Linked DNA regions of Homo sapiens: region 1 is linked to region 2. The links are contacts of gene promoters, found by promoter capture Hi-C in blood cells and fetal thymus (Javierre and others, 2016). All regions are on one chromosome and are shown on one strand. The core of a region is centred on a gene start or on the middle of the fragment in contact, and the rest is flanking DNA. Distances in the headings are between cores, read along the strand shown.

Evidence for each region. Contacts are between HindIII fragments. The CHiCAGO score rates a contact against its expected background, and 5 or more counts as called.
Region 1: a contact is called between a fragment that was not itself captured here and the fragment with the promoter of GLS2 in region 2, in 5 of 17 cell types (naive CD4 T cells, total B cells, activated CD4 T cells and 2 more). The highest score is 6.0, in naive CD4 T cells.

The regions. Positions count from the first base shown.
Region 1 is chr12:56,204,841-56,211,587 of GRCh38, reverse strand. It overlaps RNF41 (ring finger protein 41), which reads left to right. Exons shown (of 7, transcript NM_005785.4): 4 at 1,020-1,291; 5 at 3,290-3,425; 6 at 3,839-3,942; 7 at 4,790-6,747. The coding sequence ends at 5,141. Among named protein-coding and RNA genes, the nearest start is that of RNF41, 14 kb to the left of the region's middle. RefSeq lists a silencer at 3,409-3,458. The HindIII fragment of the contact is 2,772 bases long and covers 3,727-6,498 here.
Region 2 is chr12:56,486,911-56,493,994 of GRCh38, reverse strand. GLS2 (glutaminase 2) reads left to right here and starts at 5,834. Exons shown (of 18, transcript NM_013267.4): 1 at 5,834-6,058. The coding sequence starts at 5,877. It overlaps LOC124902944 (a long non-coding RNA gene), which reads right to left. Exons shown (of 2, transcript XR_007063331.1): 1 at 7,043-7,084; 2 at 6,663-7,008. RefSeq lists a silencer at 5,488-5,917 and an enhancer at 6,078-6,297. The HindIII fragment of the contact is 16,217 bases long and covers 3,322-7,084 here.

The sequences.
Region 1 (6,747 bases), core at 3,863-6,362, 280 kb after region 2:
ATAAATACCTGCCGTGATTGAGCTAGCCTGAAAAGACCTCACCCTCCTCTGGACATTTTTGGCAATTATTGTGTATGCAATCCAGATGGCAATTAATAATTGGCTGCCTTGTGTCATCTGTCCTATTGTCCTAGAATATCATTTGTATCTCTTATTGTTATATAACTTTTTACTTGTTTGTCTTGTTTCACAACTCATTTTTAATCTTGAGCACAGGGAATATATATATATATATTTATTTATTTATTTTGAAACAGGTTCTGGCTCTGTCACCCAGGCTGGAGTGCAGTGGTGCAGTCTTGGTTCACTGCAACCTCCGCCTTATGGGCTCAAGCCATCCTCCATCCTCCCACCTCAGCCTCCTGGCTAGCTGGGACTATAGGCACGTGCCACCAGGCCCAGCTTTTTTTTTTCGAGATGTATTGCCCAGGCTAGAGTGCAGTGGTGTGATCTTGGCTCACTGCAACCTCCACCTCCTGGGTTCAAGCTATTCTCCTGCCTTAGCCTCCTGAGTAGCTGTGATTACAGGCATGCGCCACCACCCCTGGCTAATTTTTTTATTTTTAGTAGAGACAGGGTTTCACCATGTCGGTCAGGCTGGTCTTGAACTCCTGACCTCATGATCCGCCTGCCTCGGCCTCCCAAAGTGCTGAGATTACAGGCGTGAGCCACTGCGCCCGGCCTATGCCCGGCTAATTTTTGTAATTTTTGTAGAGATGGGGTTTTGTCATGTTGTCTGGGATGGTCTCAAACTCCTGAGGTCAAGCAGTGTGCCTGCCTTAGCCTCCCAAAGTGCTGGGATTACAGGCATGAGCCACCGTGCCCAGCAGGAAACGTATCTTAAGCCTGTCCCCTACAATGCCTTGCCCGTAGTAGATCTATACTTTGCTGTGACCCAGTGGACCTCTTGTCGTAGAGGCTGCTCAAAGGCTTGATTGGCTTTGTAGAGTTATATCATATCCAGGCTCTTAGGTCCTGCTAATTCCCTTGCGCCCCTTTTGCCTTGTTCTCTCTTCTAGGCACCTCATTGTGAACATGCTTTCTGCAACGCCTGCATCACCCAGTGGTTCTCTCAGCAACAGACATGTCCAGTGGACCGTAGTGTTGTGACGGTCGCCCATCTGCGCCCAGTACCTCGGATCATGCGGAACATGTTGTCAAAGCTGCAGATTGCCTGTGACAACGCTGTGTTCGGCTGTAGTGCCGTTGTCCGGCTTGACAACCTCATGTCTCACCTCAGCGACTGTGAGCACAACCCGAAGCGGCCTGTGACCTGTGAACAGGGCTGTGGGTGAGATTTGTTCCCTTCTGCCCCACATGGATAAGGGCCATCTCATTTATGCCCCTGTCTCTGGCTGCCCTCCTCACTAGCTGAGGAGGTCTCTTTGGCATGTTGGCAAGGAGTATTCTTAGCCTCCTTGGCTTCCTGCTCTAAGATCTTACTTTCTTGCTGCTTTTCCAACTATAATCATTTTGCTCTTGCTTTAACAAAAGAAGGGGCACAGCAATTTAGTAAATTTGTGTAATAACATTAAAGCTTGATTGACTCTATTCTTCCCTTTCAGTCCAATACTACTTTCCGTTTGTCAGGTTGACTGCTATAATTGCCAGCCTTCTCATATTTCCTCTTGCCCTATTTTTTTATTTCTGTGGGTTATGAAATATTCGACTAAATGTTGATAGCTGAAGGGCATGTTAGCTCACACCTGTAATCCTAGCACTTTGGGAGGCCGAAGTGGGCAAGTCACTTCAGGCCAGGAGTTCAAGACCAACCTGGCCAACATGGCAAAACCTTGTCTCTACTAAAAATACAAAAATTAGCCAGGTGTGGGGCCGGGCGCGGTGGCTCACGCCTGTAATCCCAGCACTTTGGGAGGCCAAGGCGGGTGGATCACGAGGTCAGGAGATTGAGACCATCCTGGCTAACACATTGAAACCCCGTCTCTACTAAAAATACAAAAAACTAGCCAGGCGTGGTGGCAGGCACCTGTAGTCCCAGCTACTTGGGAGGCTGAGGCAGGAGAACGGCATGAACCTGGGACGGGGAGCTTGCAGTGAGCAGAGATTGAGCCACTGCACTCCAGCCTGGGCAACAGAGCGAGACTCCGTCTCAAAAAAAAAAAAAAAAAATTAGCCAAGTGTGGTGGTGCTCGCCTGTAATCCCAGCTACTCAGGAGGCTGAGGCATGAGAATCACTTAAAACCAGAGGTAGAGGTTGTAGTGAGCTGAGATCGCGCCATTGCACTCCAGCCTGGGTGACAGAATGAGACTCTGTTCCCCCTAACTAAAAAATAAAAAGAATGTTGATAGCTGGGGCTGTGAATATAGGGCTTCTCTGAAGGAATAAGTGCACAGGCAGAATCTGTAGGAGGAAAAGGAGAGCTGTGCAGTAGATAAAAACAGTGTGTCAAAATAAATAAATAGGCCCCGTGCGGTGGCTCACGCCTGTAATCCCAGCACTTTGGGAGGACGAGGCGGGCGGATCACCTGAGGTCAGGAGTTCAAGACCAGCGTGGCCAACATGGTGAAACCCCATCTCTACTAAAAATATAAAAATTAGCCAGGTGTGGTGGTGGGCACCTGTAATCCCAGCTACTCGGGAGGCTGAGGCACAAGAATTACTTGAACCCATGAGGCGGAGGTTGCAGTGAGCTGAGACCGTGCCATTGCACTCCAGCCTGGGTGACAAGAGTGAAACTTGGTCTCGAAAAAAAAAAAAAAAGGCCAGGCGCGGTGGCTCACGCCTGTAATCCCAACACTTTGGAAGGCCGAGGGGGGCAGATCACGTGAGGCCAGGAGTTTGAGACCAGCCTGGCTAACATGGAGAAACCCCATTTCTACTAAAAATACAAAAAGTTAGCCGGCCATGGTGGCGCGCACCTGTAATCCCAGCTACTCGGGAGGCTGAGGCAGGAGAATCGCTTGAACCTGGGAGGCAGAGGTTGCGCTGAGCTGAGATCATGCCATCGCACTCCAGTTTGGGCAACAAGAGCGAAACTCCGTGTCAAAAAAAATAATAAAAATACAAAATAAAATAAATTTAAAAAATAGATAAAACACTGTGTCTTGATTGGGGAAAGAAATTTAAGGAAAATAGACAGCAAAGGGGCAAGTAGGAAGCTTGGACGAAGAAAGTGAAGGGAATAAACAAGAGGGAGGCCTGAAATGAATGTTAGAAATTTTGGGTAGGACAAAATCTACTTAGCAGTTATCTGCCACAGAATAGGCCATTTGCATACATGTCCCAGGGATCACCTCTGTTCTGCTCTTTCCCCACCCTGGTCTGCAGCCTGGAGATGCCCAAAGATGAGCTGCCCAACCATAACTGCATTAAGCACCTGCGCTCAGTGGTACAGCAGCAGCAGACACGCATCGCAGAGCTGGAGAAGACGTCAGCTGAACACAAACACCAGCTGGCGGAGCAGGTAGGCCCCAAGACACGGGGGAGAACATATCCCTCATATGCAGATAACTGCCTGCCTGTGGGTAATAAAAACCAGTTGTGAACACACAGACCAGTGCTTACACTTGTGAGCCTAGATGAGTGGATATTCTGCCTGTGGCTTAGCAGGGAATCAGATTGGAGCTCTCCTTGACTTTTCTTCATCCCATTCATAGCATTAATTCACCTACCAGTTATCACATGCCTCCTCTGTGAAGGCACATTTGTAAGTACTAAGGAGACAGCTGTGAGTGAGACAGTCTTATCCCTGTCTTCCTGAAGCTTACAAACTGGTTGTTCTTCAGATCTCTCAGTTGCCCTCATTCTTGGATAAACTTTTGTCTTTTTTCTGCTGTCTGCCTTAACCATTATTCCTGTTCTTCTTCCCCACAACAGAAGCGAGACATCCAGCTGCTAAAGGCATACATGCGTGCAATCCGCAGTGTCAACCCCAACCTTCAGAACCTGGAGGAGACAATTGAATACAACGAGATCCTAGAGTGAGTGTCACTCAGGACGTGGAGTGATTTCATGTCCTGACAACAAGGCCTGAAAGGAGGAAGAGCAGGAGAGTAGCAGAAGGAGGGCATTGGAGAGCTGGGCTGGGGGTCACTGCTTCTCAGATATTGGCATTAAGGACAGGGGCAGAGGAGAAGAGGATAACCCTTAGCTCCACTACAGGATGTCTTATGTGTTTGGGTGGATGGAGGGAAAGCCTGCCCAAGGATGCACTTTATCCAGAATTAGGTGAGTACCCATGTACAAAGCCCTGTATTAAAGGCTGTGGAGTGCTAGGAGGGCCAAAAAGAAATAGAAGATATCGTCCTGTCTTCAGGTAGCTTACAACCCAGAGAAGAGGAGGCAGAGTGCAAGTCCAGGAAAGTGATCTCTAAAATGCAGCAAAAACAAGCGAAGTATACAAGTGAAGTCTAAGATCTCTTTCAGTTCTGGAGTCCTATACAGTTCATAGAGTAAACTGTAAGTGTGAATCAATATATACAGGGCAAATAGTGCTGAGTGGGACATAGGATAGAGGAATAATTGTTTTATTCACTAAACATAGAGCACTAACTGTGTTAGGCGCTATATGTGCTAAGTATTGGAATTTCAAAGAAAAGTAACAGAGACAGAGTGCAGACTTGTGGAATTTAATCTGGTGAGTAACATGTGGTGACTCAGTTGGGACCAAGTGGGGAAAGATTTGGGGTTTCTGAGCCAATGATGGAAGGAAAGAAGGAAGAATAGGTAAGCTGAGTGCAGAGTGGGTAGTTATTTCTATTAGCAGAAAAAGCCAATACAGAGAAAGGAGATGAGCTGGAATGACCATCTTTAACCACCTCCACACAGGTGGGTGAACTCCCTTCAGCCAGCAAGAGTGACCCGCTGGGGAGGGATGATCTCGACTCCTGATGCTGTGCTCCAGGCTGTAATCAAGCGCTCCCTGGTGGAGAGTGGCTGTCCTGCTTCTATTGTCAACGAGCTGATTGAAAATGCCCACGAGCGTAGCTGGCCCCAGGGTCTGGCCACACTAGAGACTAGACAGATGAACCGACGCTACTATGAGAACTACGTGGCCAAGCGCATCCCTGGCAAGCAGGCTGTTGTCGTGATGGCCTGTGAGAACCAGCACATGGGGGATGACATGGTGCAAGAGCCAGGCCTTGTCATGATATTTGCGCATGGCGTGGAAGAGATATAAGAGAACTCGACTGGCTATCAGGAAGAGATGGAAATCAGAAAATCCCATCACTCCAGCAGCTGGGACCTGAGTCCTACCCACCATTCTTAATACTGTGGCTTATACCTGAGCCACACATCTCCCTGCCCTTCTGGCACTGAAGGGCCTTGGGGTAGTTTGCTCAGCCTTTCAGGTGGGAAACCCAGATTTCCTCCCTTTGCCATATTCCCCTAAAATGTCTATAAATTATCAGTCTGGGTGGGAAAGCCCCCACCTCCATCCATTTTCCTGCTTAGGGTCCCTGGTTCCAGTTATTTTCAGAAAGCACAAAGAGATTCAATTTCCCTGGAGGATCAGGACAGAGGAAGGAATCTCTAATCGTCCCTCTCCTCCAAAACCAGGGAATCAGAGCAGTCAGGCCTGTTGACTCTAAGCAGCAGACATCCTGAAGAAATGGTAAGGGTGGAGCCAAATCTCTAGAAATAAGTAGTGAGGCCGTTAATTGGCCATCACTGATGGCCCTTAGGGAAAGACTGGACCTCTGTGCCAAGCAGTATCCCTGTTCAGCCCACCTTAAAGGTGTAGGCACCCACTGGGTCTACCAGTATGCAGGTTGGGATACTGAAAATTTCCAGATGAGCTCTTCTTTCCTACAAGTTTTCATAATTAGGGAATGCCAGGGTTTAGGGTAGGGGTTAATCTGTTGGGGGTTGATGTGTTTAGCAAGAAGCTACTCCTAGCTTTTGCTAAAATATGGTTGGCACTGCCTCTTGTGGCACAGGCCATAATTGTTCCATAGACCCCTCTCTAGCCCTGTGACTGTAGTTAGTTACTTTGATAATTTTCTTTGGCCATTGTTTGTTTATATTTCACAAACTCCACCTACTGCCCCCCCCCCTCTTTTTTTTAAGAATGGCCTGATCATGGCTATCTCAGCCACATTGTTGGCAATTTAATTTATTTACTTCCTTTTTTTTTTTTTAAGAAAGGAAAAAAGAAAAAAAAATCAAACTTGAAACTTTTCTTTTGATGTTCCTATTGTGGGGGTTCTGGATAGGGTGGGACAGGGATGGGGGTGTGTTTTATATTTTTTCCTTTTCAGCACAACCTTTGGCTTTAATATAGGAAGAGCCAAGGGAGTCCTCGGCTGAACTTACGATATCTGCCCCAAACCTCTGTAACCCCAACTGAAATGAGGAGCTTCCTCTCTTCCTGTGAAGGATATGACAGTCCAGCATCGATGCCTGTGCCCTCTGGAAAAATTTCCTCCTAGCCCTTCCAGGGCCTTATCATAAAACTCTGGATTTAGAGTATTCATTTTGAAGGCAACTCCCCCTTCCCCAAGTTTCCTTGGAGCTGTATAGCTGGGTTCTAAGCTTCACCATGCAAATCAGAAATTTTATCTCTAAGTACAGGCTGTGCCGTGTCTCACCCACACCCCCCTGGGGACTTCAGTTCCATTTCAGGTTACCTGGGGTATACCTTGATCCCTAGAGTGACTGGCAGAGTAAGAGAAGGGGAGAGATAATAGGTGTGATTATTTTAATATGGAGGTGGGAGTGTGGTTGGAGATAGAAAGGCTCCTCCCCACCATGTAATGGCTTCCTCTCAGAATTTTATTCCAGGC
Region 2 (7,084 bases), core at 4,585-7,084:
CATCTGGGAAGTGAGGAGCACCTCTGCCCAGCCGCCACCCTGTCTAGGAATTGAGGAGCGCCTCTGCCCGGCTGCCCCATCTGGGAAGTGAGGAGCACCTCTGCCTGGCCACCCGCTCTGGGAAGTGAGGAGCGCCTCTGCCCGGCCGCCCCCTCTGGGAAGTGAGGAGCGCCTCTGCCCGGCCGCCCCCTCTGGGAAGTGAGGAGCACCTCTGCCCAGCCACCCCGTCTGGGAAGTGGGGAGCGACTCTGCCCAGCCGCCCCGTCTGGGAGGTGTACCCAACAGCTCTGAAGAGACAGCGACCATCGAGAACGGGCCATGATGACGATGGCGGTTTTGTCGAAAAGAAAAGGGAGAAATGTGGGGAAAAGAAAGATCAGATTGTTACTGTGTCTGTAGAAAGAAGTAGACATAGGAGACTCCATTTTGTTCTGTACTAAGAAAAATTCTTCTGCCTTGGGATGCTGTTAATCTATAACCTTACCCGAACCCCGTGCTCTCTGAAACATGTGCTGTGTCAACTCAGGGTTAAATGGATTAAGGGCGGTGCAAGATGTGCTTTGTTAAACAGATGCTTGAAGGCAGCATGCACATTAAGAGTCATCACCACTCCCTAATCTCAAGTACCCAGGGACACAAACACTGTGGAAGGCTGCAGGGACCTCTGCCTAGGAAAACCAGAGACCTTTGTTCACATGTTTATCTGCTGACCTTCTCTCCACTATTATCCTATGACCCTGCCACATCCCCTTCTCCGAGAAACACCCAAGAATGATCAATAAATACTTAAAAAAAAAAAAAAAAAGAAAATTCATACAGTTAAAAAAAAAAAAAAACTTTCCTGAAAATCAGAAAACTAGAATGACAGTTTTTTTGCAAACTGACAGGTCAAAGTAGGTGATGTAAAAAATTTCAAATTATATACAATCTTAATAAAATATGGCTTATGGAGCATTTCACTTAGGTAAATGTGGTTAAAAGTTAATTTAACCTAGTCTTTTAGAGAAGGGTCTCATTTGTTCACTACAGAGTAATACAAGATTCTGACATCTTTCATAGTCTTTAAGTCAAAGAAAAACAAGTATTAAAATACTATTTCTCTAGCAATAACTTGGAGAAGGGAAAAAAGAAAAAAGAAAATGCTATCAAGCAAACCCCGAAGGTATTTTCTTCTTGCTGTGTTGGCAAAGGCTTTCAAATTCCTTCAAATTAGCTTTCGCCTACAGACTTTTCTAAATCCTTTTTAGGAATTCTAGCAAAATCTACATTATTTTAGTATATTTTGTTGATTAAGACTTGCTAGAATCTACTTTAATAGCTATTGGAGAACCCAGATTATACAAGATATTATTTGGAAAAATAGAGAAAATGCATGTTAGGCATCGTAAATGGACCAGTGTGATGATATGTTTTTTAATAGGCTTATATTTATATTTTTTCAGTCCTATAAATGTTCATTTTGTTATTGCTAAACCAAAGAAGAATTAGGAAAGCACACTGGAGTAGATCACAGACACGCTTAAACTTTTATTAAATTTCATTTACTCCATGAAAGTCTAGCATCAAGTTAAAACATGCATCCCATACCTACATCCTCAGTTTCATTGGTCCCCATTCTTTTTTTTTTTTTTTTTTTTTTTTTTGAGATGGAGTCTCGCTGTCACCCAGGCTGGAGTGCAGTGGCGCGATCTTGGCTCACTGCAACCTCTGCCTCCCAGGTTCAACTGATTCTCCTGCCTCAGCCTCCTGAGTAGCTGAGATTACAGGTGCATGCCACCACGCCTGGCTAATTTTTGTATTTTCAGTAGAGATGGGGTTTCACCGTGTTGGTCAGGCTGGTCTCGAACTCCTGACCTTGTGATCTGCCCACCTCAGTCTCCCAAAGTGCTGGGATTACAGGCATAAGCCACCACGCCCGGCTGGTCCACATTCTTATACCCACGTTTCATTCCAACCAAACTAGAGGTAGAGTCCCTCAAATGTTCCTCTCAGGCTATGTTTATTCTTGTAGAGCCCTCTGTCTGAAACACCTCTCGTGCTTTAAAAACCAGCTCCTGTCAGTCACCATTCCTCTTCTATCCCAGTGGCCCTTCACCCCCAGCTTAGTTAGATGTCCCCTTTATACTTTCTTCTGCATGTCTCTACATCACAGCATTTTTCATTAGGAATTTTAAACATAAGCTTTCTCATTTCTCCCAGTAGAAACTGGTTTATTAAATTTTTAAATTTCTGGATTTTCCAGCACTGGACCTGGCACACTGAATGCCAACAAATAAATATTAATTGAGTGAATGGAAGCTCATTATGTCAGAGCCCCAAGTACTTACATTTTACCCAGTAAAATACAAGTTTATCTTTTACAAATGGAGAAACTAAGGCAGAAAGGAGTTTGTAACAATAGTATCATTAACAAAGATTAATAAAAAAATGAACTAATCTTTTACTTGGACCAATTAACATCCTAGCTACAGTCTAAAGAGTAGAACAGGCCAGGTGCGGTGGCTCACACCTGCAATCCTAGCACTTTGAGAGGCTGAGGCGGGCAAATCAAGGGGTCAGGAGTTCGAGACCAGCCTGGCCAACATAGTGAAACTCCGTCACTACTAAAAATACGAAAATTAGCCGAGCATATTGGCGGGTGCCTGTAATCCCAGCTATTCGGAAGGCTGAGGCAGGAGAATTGCTTGAACCCGGGAGGCGGATGTTGCAGTGAGCCAAGATCACACCATTGCACTCCAGCATGGACGACAGAGCGAGACTCCATCACACACACACACACACACACACACACACACACACACAAAATAGAGTAGAACAAATGAGTCTCTAAATCATAAGAAATAAACAAACTCCAAACATCAATTTCCTATCACAGAGGATTAGCTTTTCCTTCTTTCTTTCTTTTCTTTTTTTTTTTTTGTTTGAGACGGAGTTTTGCTCTTGTTGCCCGGGCTGGAGTGCAATGGCGTGATCTCAGCTCACCGCAACCTCCGCCTCCCAGATTCAAGCAATTCTCCTGCCTCAGCCTCCTGAGCAGCTGGGATTACAGGCATGAGCCACCGCGCCCGGCCCGGATTTAGCTTTTATTAAGGATTCAAAATCATTAAGTCTAATCCTCTCTCACATACCACAAAACTCTGGCACAGCCATGGACTAACCTAAAAGCCCACTGTTAGAGACACAAAGAACTTTCTTTCAGTTATGAAAATCTTCATTTCTAGCTGCCCTTGTCATAGTTGGCTAATAGTTTTGCACAAATTAAACTAGATGATGAGTATTTTTCAAATTAGAAACAAAAAGAGGACCTGACCCTGCCAAGCTTTAACCACCTGGGACAACAAACTTGTTCTTCTCCAGCATCTTATACTTTACACAGTACCATTGGCCTCCCAAGTCACCAGTTCATGCTCCATCCTCATGCAAAGACAGCAATATTGTATTGGAGACAGTTAGTCCAAAGGTCCAAGTGCAGCTGGAGCTAGTTCTCTAAGCAAAGAACCTCTGCTTCCATGCATAGATCTTCTTCACTACCCAACCAGTTCCTATTAGTGGAAGAGTGCTGGGAGAAAGAGAGTAAGGAACTCATTAGAGTATAAAGCTAATTCAAAGAGGCAGAAATAGGAAAAAAAGGAAGCAAATTACTTCTGGGTAATGTTTAGAAATTCCCTAACAGATGGTATTTTTCTCTTGAATAGATCAAAACGTTTCAGATAAATCATATTTCTATGAAACAAGGATAAGATTCGTCTGTTACGTATGAAAAAAACTAATGCAGGATTGAGTTTACGTTAAGTATTGAGACCCAGAACTCTGCCTCTTGGGCAAAGCCAAGCATAAAGCAGCAAGCCCTCCCAGAATTAGACGGCTTTCCACGGACAGGAGAACAGATACAGCAGACACAGAATGACTACAGAAGGCGAAAACAAGCAAAAACAAATGTCACTCCATCTGGTTTTAAGCCAAATAAGCCCTCCAACCCTAACCAAGGCAAAGGAGAACTGCCTTTCCACAGAACACACCTGACTGGTTTCAGTACTTGTTTTCCCACGAGTACCCTTGAAACTCATTTTAATCCAAAAATGAAAACTATGGGACAAGCACGGTGGCTCATGCCTGTAATCCCAGCACTTGTGGGAGGCTGAGGCGGGCGGATCATCTGAGGTCAGGAGTTTGAGACCAGCCTGACCGATATGGCGAAACCACATCTTTACTAAATACAAAAAATTAGCTGGGCGAGGTAGCAGGCGCCTGTAATCCCAGCTACTAGGGAGGCTGAGGCAGGAGAATCGCATGAACCCAGGAGGCGGAGGTTGCAGTGAGTCGAGATTGCGCCATTGCACTCCAGCTAGGGCAACAAGAGCAAAACTTCGTCTCAAAAACAAACAAACAAAAACTAGTATTTTGTGATACAGCCAGAACTATCACAAGGAAAAGACTCCCAGTACTGTATCATAATACTTCCACATAAAATACCTCCTTTAGGGATGGGGTCATTTCTCCCGGGATAATTCAATTCAATGCTTAATTTTTGAGAAGGGCTGCATGAAGGAGAGACTTGTAGTTAAAAAAAAAAAACGGGTCTAATTTCTGGTTCTGGTACTTACTAGCTGGGTTACCTTATGCGAGAATTCTTAATTTCCTAGTCTTAGTTTCCTCACCTTCAAATTGAGACTAATAACTACTTTGTAGGTCTCTGGTAAGAGGGAGAGAGAAACTAAGCGGTTGGAACACCATGGGCACTCAATAATAGCTATCATTTACATAATGAGTCCCTACTAAATATGGATGCTGGGTTAGGCGCTGCCGAGATACAAGGTGAAAGTTCTAGCTGCAAATGGCAAAAGTCCTGAATGTTCTTGGATTTCAAAATGCTTTTTGTATATCGCCTCTTTTCTGCCCGTGAGGAGGACAAGGGCAAACAATTAAAATAGGAAAAATGTGGGGAGCACTTCATGGTTTATAAAACGTTTTTCTGCGTGCCAACTTATTTTAATGTCTTAACTTTCCAGATTTGAAAACAAGTCCTACACCAAATAAATGGTAGAGGGACACAAACTGGAACCCAGGCTTCCTAACCGCCAGAGCGACCTTCCCGCCGCCCAATGCCTCCCTGAGGTGCTGGTCGGCTGCTTCTGCCCGGGGTACCCAGCAGTCATCCTACTCTCCACTCAGCACCACCGCACGTCGGCCGCGCGCCACGCTACCCGCCGGGTTACTGGGCGCTGGTTTGGCCTTCGGAGGTCGAGGCTCTCTGAGTGACCTCCTGAACTGGGCTCACTCTTACTTAGCCTCCTCTCTCGAGGCAGCACCCTCCTCTCTACACGACAACTCCATCATTCGCAGCCCCACGGTGTTCCCGGGGAGCGCCTCCCGCCCCCACCGGCTTCGCCTCAGCTTGTCCTCGCCTTTCCCGCCCTCAGCATCCGCGGATACCCGCGCTCGCCGGGCCCACGCGGAAGCATCCGCAGACTGTCGCAAGGTCCCACCGTCTTGCTCTCATTGGGCAACCTTACCCTTTCCCCGCCTCAATGTTTTTGCTTCCTCAGTGATTGGACCTGGGCATTGTCCATTCCAGCTCCCAGGCACCGCCCTCTCTCCACCCACTAGAAAGCCACCCGGGTTCTCCTTCATCCCCAACGCTCCTCACCTAGCCCCTGTCCTGAGGGTGCCCCTAACCCTGGAGCCAGCTTTAAAGGGGCAGGCCCCTTCTCCTGCCCCAGCCCCAGCCCCACCCACCGGGCCCACATTCTCCGTCTTCCAGGTCCAGCGCTCCCTCACAGAACTCCCCCGCACCTTGTCTCGCTCGCTCCGCCCCTCCTTCCCAGCCACAGCTAGAGGTCCCGGGCGCACCTGCAGAGCCGGAGGCTTGCTGGGGCATGCGCTCCATGAAGGCTCTGCAGAAGGCCCTGAGCCGGGCTGGCAGTCACTGCGGGCGAGGAGGCTGGGGTCACCCGAGCCGGAGCCCCCTCCTTGGCGGGGGCGTCCGGCACCACCTCAGTGAGGCCGCGGCGCAGGGCAGAGAGACGCCACACAGCCACCAGCCGCAGCACCAGGATCAGTAAGGCTCCTGGGACAGGGCAGGGGACGGGCTTGCCCCCACTCCCACTGTGGTTCTCGCTAGTTCCCGAGTGCCCTTCCAAGGCAGCGCCGCTCATCTCCCCTCTCCTCGCTCACTAGCCCTCGGTGCCTTTTCCTTTGGATGTGGGGCTTTGGGTGCGCCGCGCTCGGGCGGTAATCTGCCGTCTGCCTAGGAGTGCGTTCGGGCAAGCGGGTCCTGGGGATGGCGCCTGTCCAAGGTGCGCACTTAACCCGGATCACAGATGCGCGCCGAGTGTTGCTTGGCTCACGTGTCTGAGTGCAGGGCCGGGCTCACGCCGCCAGTCCTCACCTTCCCTAGTCCTCGTGTGTATTTTAGGAGATGCGTGGATGTGGAACAGCCTCCTGCCTCCGGTCCAGGTGTACTGGGGTCTGTGTGTTGTGTTTCTGCGTGTTCTCGGCAGGTAATGTGTGATGCGCGTGTATTATTGGTGCGCAGGTACGTCCATAAGTGTTGGGTGTGTGCGTAGCAGTGCTCCCTGAACAGCAGAATGGGGGGGAATTTCCAAACTGGTTGTTGAATGGGGAGAATATTTGTAATGGAGGAAAGGTCTTTAAGACGCAGATTTCCCAAACCAGAGCCAGTCAGAGCCTTTATTTGTGCTGCCCAGGCTCCAGAATCTAAAACGTTCTCTTCCTTTGGGTGTTTCTTCCACCCAGGATGCCAAACCTTTATCTTCCCCACCGCCTAGGACACACTTGGTGGCTGAGCCTTTTTCTCTGAGACCCAGACGGTGCTGAGCAGGAAATCTTGTCCTCCCCAGAGGGCCAGCATAGACACTGTCCAAAGAGCCCCTGCTCTACTGTAGCAGGAACAGGAAATGGGCCATCTCCCTCGTCGCTGCCATCTCCCTGATGACACTCAGAAACATGGACACCATCAGTAAAGTAGCCAGACTGACACAACACTACCTCACCACTACTCGAGTCTCTGACACAACACTACCTCACCACTACTCGAGTCTCTGTCGTAAGGGACACCAATAGG